4 separate regions of the Homo sapiens genome follow, and regions 2, 3 and 4 are each linked to region 1. Evidence: promoter capture Hi-C in 16 types of primary human blood cells and fetal thymus (Javierre and others, 2016). All regions are on one chromosome and are shown on one strand. Each heading gives the region's core, a stretch centred on a gene start or on the middle of the fragment in contact. The rest is flanking DNA. Distances are from core to core; before and after follow the strand shown. Region 1 holds the start of DDX6 (DEAD-box helicase 6). Region 2 has its middle 4.8 kb from the start of UPK2. Region 3 holds the start of SLC37A4 (solute carrier family 37 member 4). Region 4 overlaps ARCN1 (archain 1 coat protein complex I subunit delta).

The links. The method cuts DNA at HindIII sites, captures the fragments that hold promoters and counts their contacts. A CHiCAGO score of 5 or more calls a contact.
Region 2: a fragment that was not itself captured here is called in contact with the fragment with the promoter of DDX6 in region 1 in 12 of 17 cell types (non-activated CD4 T cells, naive B cells, naive CD4 T cells and 9 more); the score reaches 16.9 in non-activated CD4 T cells.
Region 3: the fragment with the promoter of SLC37A4 here is called in contact with the fragment with the promoter of DDX6 in region 1 in 2 of 17 cell types (naive B cells and neutrophils); the score reaches 5.5 in naive B cells.
Region 4: a contact is called between a fragment that was not itself captured here and the fragment with the promoter of DDX6 in region 1, in 1 of 17 cell types (naive CD4 T cells). The highest score is 5.5, in naive CD4 T cells.

The regions. Positions count from the first base shown.
Region 1 is chr11:118,789,729-118,792,428 of GRCh38, reverse strand. DDX6 (DEAD-box helicase 6) reads left to right here and starts at 1,265. Exons shown (of 14, transcript NM_004397.6): 1 at 1,265-1,331. RefSeq lists enhancers at 1-433, 1,050-1,159, 2,470-2,649, 2,108-2,665 and silencers at 490-779, 1,230-1,559, 2,190-2,269. The HindIII fragment of the contact is 4,863 bases long and covers 1,082-2,700 here.
Region 2 is chr11:118,950,167-118,952,866 of GRCh38, reverse strand. No RefSeq gene overlaps it. Among named protein-coding and RNA genes, the nearest start is that of UPK2, 4.8 kb to the left of the region's middle. The HindIII fragment of the contact is 6,551 bases long and covers 1-2,700 here.
Region 3 is chr11:119,029,627-119,032,326 of GRCh38, reverse strand. SLC37A4 (solute carrier family 37 member 4) reads left to right here and starts at 1,450. Exons shown (of 10, transcript NM_001467.6): 1 at 1,450-1,478. RefSeq lists a silencer at 1,836-1,995. The HindIII fragment of the contact is 18,338 bases long and covers 1-2,700 here.
Region 4 is chr11:118,577,210-118,579,909 of GRCh38, reverse strand. All of the region lies in intron 1 of ARCN1 (archain 1 coat protein complex I subunit delta), which reads right to left. Among named protein-coding and RNA genes, the nearest start is that of ARCN1, 6.2 kb to the right of the region's middle. The HindIII fragment of the contact is 1,645 bases long and covers 564-2,208 here.

The DNA.
Region 1 (2,700 bases), core at 16-2,515:
GACGGTTGCGCCCTACTAACTCTTCACCTTACAGTCCAGCTTCTCCCCCCACCACCCCGGTGCGCTCTCTCGGTTTGCTACCCTCTCCACCAGGCCTCCCCACTCCACCTGCGCAACGCCCCCAGCTCCGTGCTCTCCGGAGTAATCCCCCCTCAGTCGCACTCTCACAGCCCGGCCCCTGCCCCCGCCTCACCCCCAGTTGTGCCTTCACCTCCCGGTTCCTCCTAGACAGGTCCCCCAAGATACGCCCTCACAGTCCGGTCCCCCGCCGTCCTCTCCCGGCGCACGCTCAAGTCCGGTGCCTTCCCCCCGCAGACCCCCGAGGCGCACCCTCAAGCTCGGTGCCTCTGCGCCCCCCGCAGGGGCGCCCTCAAGCCTGGTACCCTTCACATGAGAGCCCCCCGGGCGCACCCTCAAGCTCGGTGTACCCCCCCATACCACCCGCAGGCGCGCCCTCATGCCCGAAGACTTCCCCCGCCCAGGTGCACCCTCAAGCCCGGTGCCTTCCCCCACAACCAGCGCCCCCAGGCGCACCCTCAAGCCCGGAGCCTACCCGCCGCCAGGCGCGCCCTACAGGCTCGCCCCGTCCCACCGCGCAGCGCCCCCCGCGCACTCTCTGGAGTCCTCCCTCCTGCCTGGTGCGGCCTCCGGGCCCGGTCGGCCCCCCTTCCTGCCCCCACACTCAGACGCGCGCCCGGCGTCTCCGGGTCGCTAGTTCCGCGCCTTCCTGCATGGAGGCGCGCCCCGAGAGGCTCGGACGCGGCCCCTTAGGCCCGGCATCAGCCTCCCCGGCCAGCTGGAGAAGTCAGGTCAGCTTCCTGTCCCCGAGCAGCTGCCCGGGGGCCAGTTTTCAAAACATATCCTTAGTCATGTAATAAAGAGATGTTCCTCTGGTCTCAACTCCCGATTTTTACTTTGGAGGGGCGAAGGCAGGCCTACCCTTGCCAGCCACCATTTCTCAATCACGTCGCGGCTGTGGAAAAGCAGCCGTCCTGTCCCTTCAGAAAGGAACTCGTATTTCCCCCTCGAACTTTTCTCGTCGGTGTGAGAGAAGGGCCCTCCATTTTCTCCTCAGGAAGCTTTCGCGGCCCGACTTCCTCTCACCACCAGGCCAGGAAGGCAGTGACGCCGCGGCGAATATAGCCGCGGCGGCCGAGGTTTCGCCATCTTGAGTGGAGGAGGAGCCGCGGTCGCCGCCATGCGGAGAGGCAGGGAAAGAGGGAGGAGGCGGCGGGCGGGCGAACGGGCGAGCGAGGGAGGGGGCAGAGGAGCCGAGTTAGCTCAGCCAGGCGGCGACTTCGGCGGCGCCACGAGAGCGGGCAGCGGAGGAGGTAGGGCTGGACAGCCGGGGGAGCCGGCGGCTCGGGCGGCTGGCCTGCGCGCCCCTCGGAGCGGGGCGGGGGCGGGGGCGAGAGGAGGCCGTAGCGAGAGGGCTGGGTGGGGGCGGGCGGAGGTTTCCGAGGAGGAAGGAGCGTCCGCCATTTTGGGAGCTTCGAGTCAACAATAAAGGACCGAGGGTGCCGAGCGGGAGTGGCCTCGTTGGTAGGACACGGGCCCGAGTCGCGAGGCTTGGGGTGAGGTGGTGGGGTCGAGGTCAGCGGTGCTTTGGGGGCTGTGGGGAGCCCCCCGGGCCGGCTCTGGGGGACTCTCGGGCGGAGGCCTAAGGCCTGGCCGGGCCTGGGGAGGAAGGCGGTCGGCAGCTGTGTGGGGTGGGAGCGCCTGAGAGGAGGCGAATATAGGAATGTGGTGCGCAGCAGGGTCGGCAGGAGGAACAGGCTAAGTACTCGGAGTAGCTTTATCGAAGATGAGGGAATATGAGGCCGAAGGGGGCGGCAAGGACTTAGGGGGATGATGGTGGAGGTTATAGGGTACGAGGCGGCCCTATAGGGGGCGGCAGGGACATGCTGTATTGGAGGGCTCGGTTTAGAAGCAAACCGGCCGCTGCTTGATTGCAGTAGGCCTTGCGGGTCAATAACAAGAGGGTATTTATGGAGCCCCCGACTCTTGGAGGAAAGGAGGGGGATTTCTGGTTTAGGGGGTCCATTTGGGGCCTCCTTGGGGGAGTCCCTATTGTTTGCTACTAATGGAGCGGTTGCTGGCTCATATTGCGCAGATAAGATTGCAGAGCCCCAACCTTTTGTGTTTATGGTCAGAAGTGTGTGTGTTTGGGGCGTGGGGCGGGGTGCGGGGGGACAAGAAATTTCCTTTCAGTTACGGGGTTCCAGTCATTAGTCAATGACTCTTTCCCGTATCTCTCTCCTTTCTCTTCCTCAGCCCCCATTTCCCTTCAGAATAAAACCCAGTCACTCCAACTTGCAGGCAAAGCTAGAAAAACTGCGCTGCATTTGCAAACAAAAGCTCTTGTTGGCGATGACGATACTGTTTTGGGTGTGAAACTGTCAATTGCTAACTACGATCTGTGAAGTGCTGTAATTAACTCCGCTAGGGGCTCCTCCCAACTAGTCTACGTTTCTTGTTGTTTGTTTTTTGTTTTTTTGTTTTTTGTTTTTGAAAATGTAGAAAACTTGCAAATCTAAATTGGGAAGGGGTAGGAGGAATATTTCCTTCTCTGAGAAAAAGCTGCAGTGCAGGTTTCAGTTTAAGAAGGGAGCAGTTATCACATAGTCTCATTTTGGATTTAAGGATATAGGAGGTCTTACTGTGCATGATGGACAGTAATGATGATATCGTTCGGTCTTT
Region 2 (2,700 bases), core at 116-2,615, 160 kb before region 1:
CCCAGTCAATTAGAAAAACATGTCTACTTGGCTGCATGGCCATGTCAGCCTCTGATGGCAGCTACTGTCCTCTTGTTGATGAGATACCATGTAACTTTAGGTGGACTTCAATGTTCTCACATTTAAAATGGAAGACTTGGCCAGGTGCGGTGGCTCACGCCTGTAATCCCAGCAGTTTGGGAGGCCGAGGCGGGTGGATTACCTGAGGTCAGGAGTTTGAGACCAGCCTGGCCAACATGGTGAAACCCTGTCTCTACTAAAAATACAAAAATCAGCCGGGTGTGGTGATGCATGCCTGTAATCCCAGCTACTTGGGAGGCTGAGGCAGGAGAATCGCTTGAATCCAGGAGGTGGAACTTGCAGTGAGCTGAAATCATGCCACTGCACTCCAGCCTAGGCAACAGAGTGAGACTCCATCTCAATAAAATGAAATAAAAAATGGCAGACTCACCAGGCACAGTGACACATGCCTGTCATCTCAGCACTTTGGGAGGCTGAAGTAGGAGGATCACTTGGGACCTGGAGTTTGAGACCAGCCTTGTGACGCAGCAAGGCTCCATCTCTACAAAACTGAAAAAAAAATTATGGCCAGGCGCTGTGGCTCACAGCCTGTAATCCCAGCACTTTGGGAAGCCAAGGTGGGAAGATTGCTTGAGCCCAGGAGTTCAAGACCAGCCTGGGTGATATAGTGACATCTCTTCTCTATTAAAAAAAAAAAAAAAAAAGCCTGGGCACGGTGGCTCACGCCTGTAATCCCAGCACTTTGGGAGGCTGAGGCGGGCAGATTATAAAGTCAGGAGTTCGAGACCAGTCTGGCCAACATAGCGAAACCCCGTCTCTACTAAAAATACAAAAAATTAGCAGGTATGGTGGTGTGCGCCTGTAATCCCAGCTACTTGGGAGGCTGAGGCAGGGGAATTGTGTGAACCCGGGAGGCGGAGGTTGCAGTGAGCCGAGGTCCCACCATTGCACTTCAGCCTGGGTGACAGTGCGAGACCCCGTCTCAAAAACAAAAACAAAACAGGCCAGGGTGGTGGCTCACACCTGTAATCCTAGCACTTTTGGAGGCTGTGTTGGGTGGATCACCTGAGGTCAGGAGTTCAAGACCAGCCTGACCAACATGGTGAAATCCCCTCTTTACTAAATACAAAAAAGAATCACTTGAACCCGGGAGATGGAGGTTGCAGTGAACTGAGATCATGCCATTACACTCCAGCACGGGCAGCAAGAGCGAAACTCCATCTCAAAAAACAAACAAACAACAACAACAAAAAAACAATGAGCTGGGCATGGTGGCACATGCCTCCAGTCCCAGCTACTTGGGAGGCTATGGCGGGAGGATGGCTTGAGCCCAGGAGTCTGAGGCTTTGGTGAGCCATGATTGCACCACTGCACTCCAGCCTGGGTGACAGAGCTGGAAATAAAGTATATAAAGAGAAGACCCCTTCCTTACTCAGGAGGTCAAACTATGTGACAGGTGTAAAAATGGTTTAAAATAAAGGTGTGGAAGAAATGCTGGAGATCATTGTCATAATCCTAGGAACAGCCAGGGATGGGGGAGTCCTGGAGGATTGGATTTGGAGGTAAGATGCGGTGCTCACCAAATGTTGGTCCATTGGGAAGTGGTGGCACCTCTATCCTTGAGACCTGAGGCTGGAAAATGCTGTGAGGATGAGAAAATACCAGTCATTCAGGGTTGGAGGAGACTTGAATGCTCCATTTTAAAAAATGTAGCCGCCCTGCGTGGTGGCTCACGCCTGTAACCCCAACACTCTGGGAGACCGAGGAGGGTGGATCACCTGAGATCGGGAGTTCGAGACCAGCCTGACCAACATGGAGAAACCCTGTCTCTACTAAAAATACAAAATTAGCCAGGCGTGGTGGCACATGCCTGTAATCCCAGCTACTTGGAAGGCTGAAGCAGGAGAATCGCTTGAACCCGGGAGGTGGAGATTGCGCCATTGCACTCCAGTCTGGGCAACAAGAGTGAAACTGTCTCAAAAAAAAAAAAAAAAAAAAAGTAGCCTCTGATACAACCACTTACCCCAAATCTTCTTCCAGCTTTGTGACTTTTGCCAAGTTACATACCTCACTAACTGCTCTGAGCTTCAGCTTCCTCTGCTGTAAAAAGGGTATAAAACCAGGCCAGGCATGGTGGCTCATGCCTGTAACCCCAGCACTTTGGGAGGCTGAGGTGGGCAGATCACGAGGTCAGGAGTTCGAGATCAGCCTGGCCAACATGGTGAAATGCCGTCTCTACTAAAAATACAAAAAATTAGCTGGGCATGGTGGCAGGTGCCTGTAATCCCAGCTACTCGGGAGGCTGAGGCAGGAGAATTGCTTGAACCTGGGAGGCAGTAGTTGCAGTGAGCCGAGACCACGCCACTGCACTCCAGCCTGGGCAACAGAGCCAGACTCCGTCTCAAAAAAAAAAAAAAAAAAAATTAAAGGGTATAAAACCTGTCTCACAACCATCTGATCTTTGACAAACCTGACAAAAACAAGAAATGGGGAAAGGATTCCCTATTTGATAAATGGTGCTGGGAAAACTGGCTAGCCATATGTAGAAAGCGGAAACTGGATCCCTTCCTTACACCTTATACAAAAATTAATTCAAGATGGATTAAAGACATAAATGTTAGATCTAAAACTATAAAAACCCTAGAAGAAAACCTAGACAATACCATTCAGGACATAGGC
Region 3 (2,700 bases), core at 201-2,700, 240 kb before region 1:
CTGGCTAATTTTGGTATTTTTAGTAGAGACAGGGTTTCACCATGTTGGCCAGGCTGGTCTCGAACTCCTGACTTCAAGTGATCTGCCCGCCTTGGCCTCCCAATGTGCTGGGATTACAAGCATGAGCCATCGCGTCCGGCCTGTCATCCTATTTTATCTCATCTCCTCCTCCTCCCTTCCCTGACCATCTTCTCTGGAGTAAAAGATCTTTGCTCTCAATTTTGGAACACTTACAATTCCTTCAGCCACTCTTGTTAGGAAGATATAAGGGAAGAGAGCGAGAGACAGGAGGCAACTCAACGGCCAAACAGGTTTATTCACAGGAATAAGCCTGCAAGGAGTTCCAGTCAGGAGTCTGGCTGAGACCCTGATCGCTTACAAGCTGAGGCTTTTATAATATCGTTTCTATTGGGGAGAGGTCGGGAAGTGCTGGCTGATTGGGACTGTTGGGGACTTTGTTAGGCTATGTTACCTTCTGTTGAAGCTATGGGCAGGGTTAACATTTGCTCTGTTTCTGAGAACACAGTCATCATTGTTGTAAAATAGCATCACTACTGTTACTCCTCACAACTCTTAACTGGGATCAGTGAAAACCATTGTTGTTGAGAACTCTTATAGAATTTCTGAGCTCTTATCTAAATCATCTGTTGAGTCTTCACAATGATCTACCAGGCTGGTAGGAAACGGGAGCTCATAGAGATTAACCAAGGTCATACAGTTAGAATGCTGTGGGTCTAGGACTAGAATTTGATATTTACTCCAGGCCCCGTCTCTGTCCCCAACAATCTAACCACAAGTTAAAATTCCAAATTGTGGGCTGGGCGCGGTGGCTCACGCCTGTAATCCCAGCACTTTGGGAGGCCGAGGTGAGCGGATCACGAGGTCAGGAGATCGAGACCATCCTGGCAAACACGGTGAAACCCCGTCTCTACTAAAAATACAAAAAATTACCCGGGCGTGGTGGTGGGCGCCCGTAGTCCCAGCTACTCGGGAGGCTGAGGCAGGAGAATGGTGTGAACCCGGGAGGAGGAGCTTGCAGTGAGCCGAAATCGCGCCACTGCACTCCAGCCTGGGCGACTGAGCGAGACTGTTTCAAAAAAAAAAAAAAAGAAAAAAAGAAAATACTGTGTGTTCCTACAACACCTTTCCCAGACTGTGAGCAACTTGGGAACAATGATTATCACCTTAGTGTTCGGTGTGTTTTGTAGAGGAGGGCACTCACTAAAAACTGGTTTGTTGAATGCAACCACTTAAGAATTGGACATGCCGTGCCCAGCCCCTAAGGGGCGCTATGCTCGTTCGTCCAAGGAGCAGCGTGACCAGCGGGAGGGAGTAAGTCGACGTCCCCGGCATGTGGGGCGGGGAACTCCACTGGCCGGCAAGCGAAGCAGCAGGCGAAGACCACGCCCCCGCCGGCCGCGCTTGCGCAGCCTTCGCTAGCCCCGCCCCGTCCTATTCGGGCTCCCGCCTCTGTTCAGGTAGGAGGCGGTATGCGGGGGAGGGGAGTCACCTGAGGGCGGGGATCTCAGGTCTTGGGGAGCCATTGTTGGCGAACCCCAACTTCCGATACGACCCGGAGCTGTTCCTGCAGTTCCAGAGACAATTCATGGGTCTTGGGGCCACCGAGGCGCTGTCCCTGACCACCAGCACGAGACCCCTTTCTATCGCGCCAGTCCTGTGGTCTCCGCACCTCTCCAGCTCCTGCACCCCCGGCCCCCGTGGTTCCCAGCCGCACAGTAGCGTGTCCTGGGTAGCGTGAGGACCCACGGGGCTGGGCAGGTGCCACGAGCCCGCCGCCTCTTCGCCGCCCGCCGCCTCTCCTCCTCTCCCGCCCGCCGCCTGGCCCTCCCCTACCAGGCTGAGCCTCTGGGTGCCAGAAGCGCGGGGCCTCCGGGAGAATACGTGCGGTCGCCCGCTCCGCGTGCGCCTACGCCTTCTGCTCCAGTTGCTTTCCCAATTGAGCGGAAAAGCCGGGGCATGTTGCCGGGGCCCTGGGCGGGACGGTTGTGCCCTGCAGCCCGAAGCCCGCCGGGGCACCTTCCCGCCCACGAGCTGCCCAGTCCCTCTGCTTGCGGCCCCTGCCAACGTCCCACAGGTTGGAAACCAGACCCTGCAGCCCCCAGCTAGCCCGAAGGAAGCCCAGACTGACGTCGCAGGGTAATGGGGACCCAGAGGTAGCTCTGTGGGGCCCCATCAGGACCTCAGCCCTTAGCGGGGCTTTCTGTGTGACACCGTGGGACCTGAACTGGGGAGGTCCCCCTTGCACAGAATTACAAGGGGCAACTGTAGGAAACAATTAAATCTATTATGTGCTAAGTATTGAGAGTTCCACGGATTGAGGCCCTCTCTAGAAGGCTTAGAAGTGGGGTAGCCGGGGTATGTGTCTGACTTTGTGTTTTGGTGCGGTGGTGGTGAGTGGGTGTAGAAACTAATAGTGCCAAGTGCAGTGCCTGTCAACTAGTAAGTTAATAAACCTTCCGTGAATGAATGAGAAGGTTCTGTGACTGAGGGAGCAGGGCTAGAGAGGGCATCTCTGCTCATCCCACCCCTGCCTCCCCTGGGCTCAGGCAGACAAAAGTAATTAGGTTGAACCTTTAATCAAAGCTGGTTTCACAGGCAAGCAGACATGATAGAGGAGGTAAAGGCAGAAATCCTGGGGACACAGGGTGCTGGCCTGGCTCACAGGCATGCCTCCTTCCG
Region 4 (2,700 bases), core at 137-2,636, 210 kb after region 1:
GATTCAAAACTGCTAAATACCAAACTGATGATTCAAAAAGTGGCCCCAGTGATGACATGATGTTCATAAAGAATCTAGAAAAAATTGTTTTATTAATATGAAAATGGAAAAAAGTAATTATTTCTAAATTAAACTTTATTTATTTAAAACATATACATATAAGTGAATTATTAACTATTTTAAGAACATATTTGACTATTTTTGCTACCTTTTTTTTTTTTAAGATGGAGTTTTGCTCTTGTTGCCCAGGCTGGAGTGCAATGGCAAGATCTCCGCTCACTGAAACCTCCACCTCCCAGGTTCAAGTGATTCTCCTGTCTCAGCCTCCCGAGTAGCTGGGATTACAGGCGCCTGCCACCACGCCCGGCTAATTTTTTTTTTTTTTTTTGTATTTCTAGTAGAGATGGGGTTTCACCATGTTGGTTGGCCAGGCTGGTCTCAAATGCCTGACCTCGGGTGATCTGCCCACCTCGGCCTCCCAAAGTGCTGAGATTACAGGCATGAGCCACCGCCCGGCCTATTTTGGCTGCATTTTAAAAAGTTTATACAATTGGCAAAAAGCTTTCCTTCTTAATAGTTTCATCAGAAAAGTAGGGAATTCCCTTATATTTGGGATCATTTCACATTGGTTTCTCCTTTTCCTAAAGACTTAGAACTAGTGTCCCAAATTTGCAAAGAACCAAGCTGATATTAGAAAAACTAAATGACTGGGAGTGAGAAAATCTATTTTCTAGTTTTGTTCTTCTATTTACTATCTGCCTGACCTTCAGTTACCCAACCTCTCTTAACCTCGTTTCTTTTCCTATAAAATGCAGCATTATCTAATGACCTTACAAGCTATTATGAGGGCCAAATGACTATAATGAAACTGTACTTCAGAAGTGCTATACAACTTGTAGCACATATATTCATGATGTAAAACAGCACCATTAGTAATAATAAACATGCATCTCATGAAAAAAATTTATGCCACTTCAAGGTAATGGATTTTTCTTTTTTTATTAAAAAAAAAAAAAAAAAAAAAAAAAAAAAAAAGAGAGACGGGGTTTTGCCATGTTGCCCAGGCTACAAATTCCTGGGCTAAAGTGATCCGCACACCTCAGCCTCCCAAAGTGCTGGGATTACAAGTGTGAGCCACAGCATCCGGCCAAGGCAATGGATTTTTGCCTTTGTCAATATTTTGATATTCAAATAATGAATATTGACTCTCCCCCCAAAATTTTACATACAGTTTCAGGGAATGCATCGATCCTCTAGAGAAGTTATTTCAAATGGCCCATAGAAAATCCCCTCATGCGATGAGAAATATTATTAATAAATGGGAGCATATTGTAAATGTAATCCCTGTAGAGCCTCCTATCCCTAAAAGGTTGAGAGTCATAGCTCTAGGAAGTCATGGTCCTCTATGTTAGAATTTTATGAGGTTTTGAAGAAATAAGACAAATCAAATGAACACCTAAAGAAAGGACAGCTCAGACCAAAACTTCAGACCTATATAAACATGCTGCATTTAATAGAAACCCCATATCTAATAATAAACCTGTTAGAAACAATGTTTACAGGCTCAAGGGTAGTTCTTAGGTTTCCAACTGGAGTTAAAAACACCTCTATACCATACAAGTAAAATTTAGGTAAAAACATCAAAAGCAACTTGAGAGGGAAAAAGGAACAAAAAGGTGTATGTTACTATCCACTTTATTTATTTATTTATTTATTTATTTATTTATTTATTTATTTATTTATTTTTTGAGAGAGTGTCTCACTCTGTAGTCCAGGCTGGAGTGCAGTGGTGCCATCTTGGCTCACTGCAAGCTCTGCCTCCTGAGTTCAAGCAATTCTCATGCCTCAGCCTCCTGAGTAACTGGGACTACAGGCACAGGCCAGCACCACCAAGCCTGGCTAATTTTTCTATTTTTAATAGAGACAGGGTTTTGCCATGTTGGGCAGGCTGGTCTCCAACTCCTGGCCTCAAGTCATCTGCGCGCCTTGGCCTCCAAAGTGTTGGGATTACAGGAGTGAGCCACTGCACCTGGCCCATCCACTTTACTGATGAGCATGTTCAAAAACTAATTATAGGTACTGGTAATCTCCATTTTTGCGATATTATAAGAATTAACTGAGTAATTATTTATCGAACATCTACTATACATACAACATGCTTTCTGAGAATTAAGATGACACAGGCTAGCATTCTGCCTACAAGAAGCTTAATAGGGATAAGACACAAACACAAATAACTGTAATATGAGGCAGAATGTGTTAAGTAACATGAGAGAGTAACCGATAAAGTGCGTGGAAATTCAGAGGAAGAGATTACTTCCAGCTGGTACAGTCAGGGATGACTTGATAGAAGAAACAGCATTTAGGCCGGGAGCGGTGGCTCATGCCTTAATCCAGCACTTTGGGAGCCAGGGCAGGCAGATCACCTGAGGTCAGGAGTTCGAGACCAGCCTGGTCAACATGGGAAAACCCTGTCTCTACCAAAAAATACAAAAAATTAGCCAAGTCTGGTGGTGCACGTCTGTAGTCCCAGCTACGGGGAGAGTGAGGTGGGAGGATTGCTTGAACCTGGGAGGCGGAAGTTGCAGTAAGCCAAGATCATACCACTTCACTCCAGCCTGGGCTACAAAGTGAGACTCTGCCTCAAAAAAAAAAAAGAAAGAAAGAAAGAAAGAAACAGAATTTAGATCATGCTTTGAT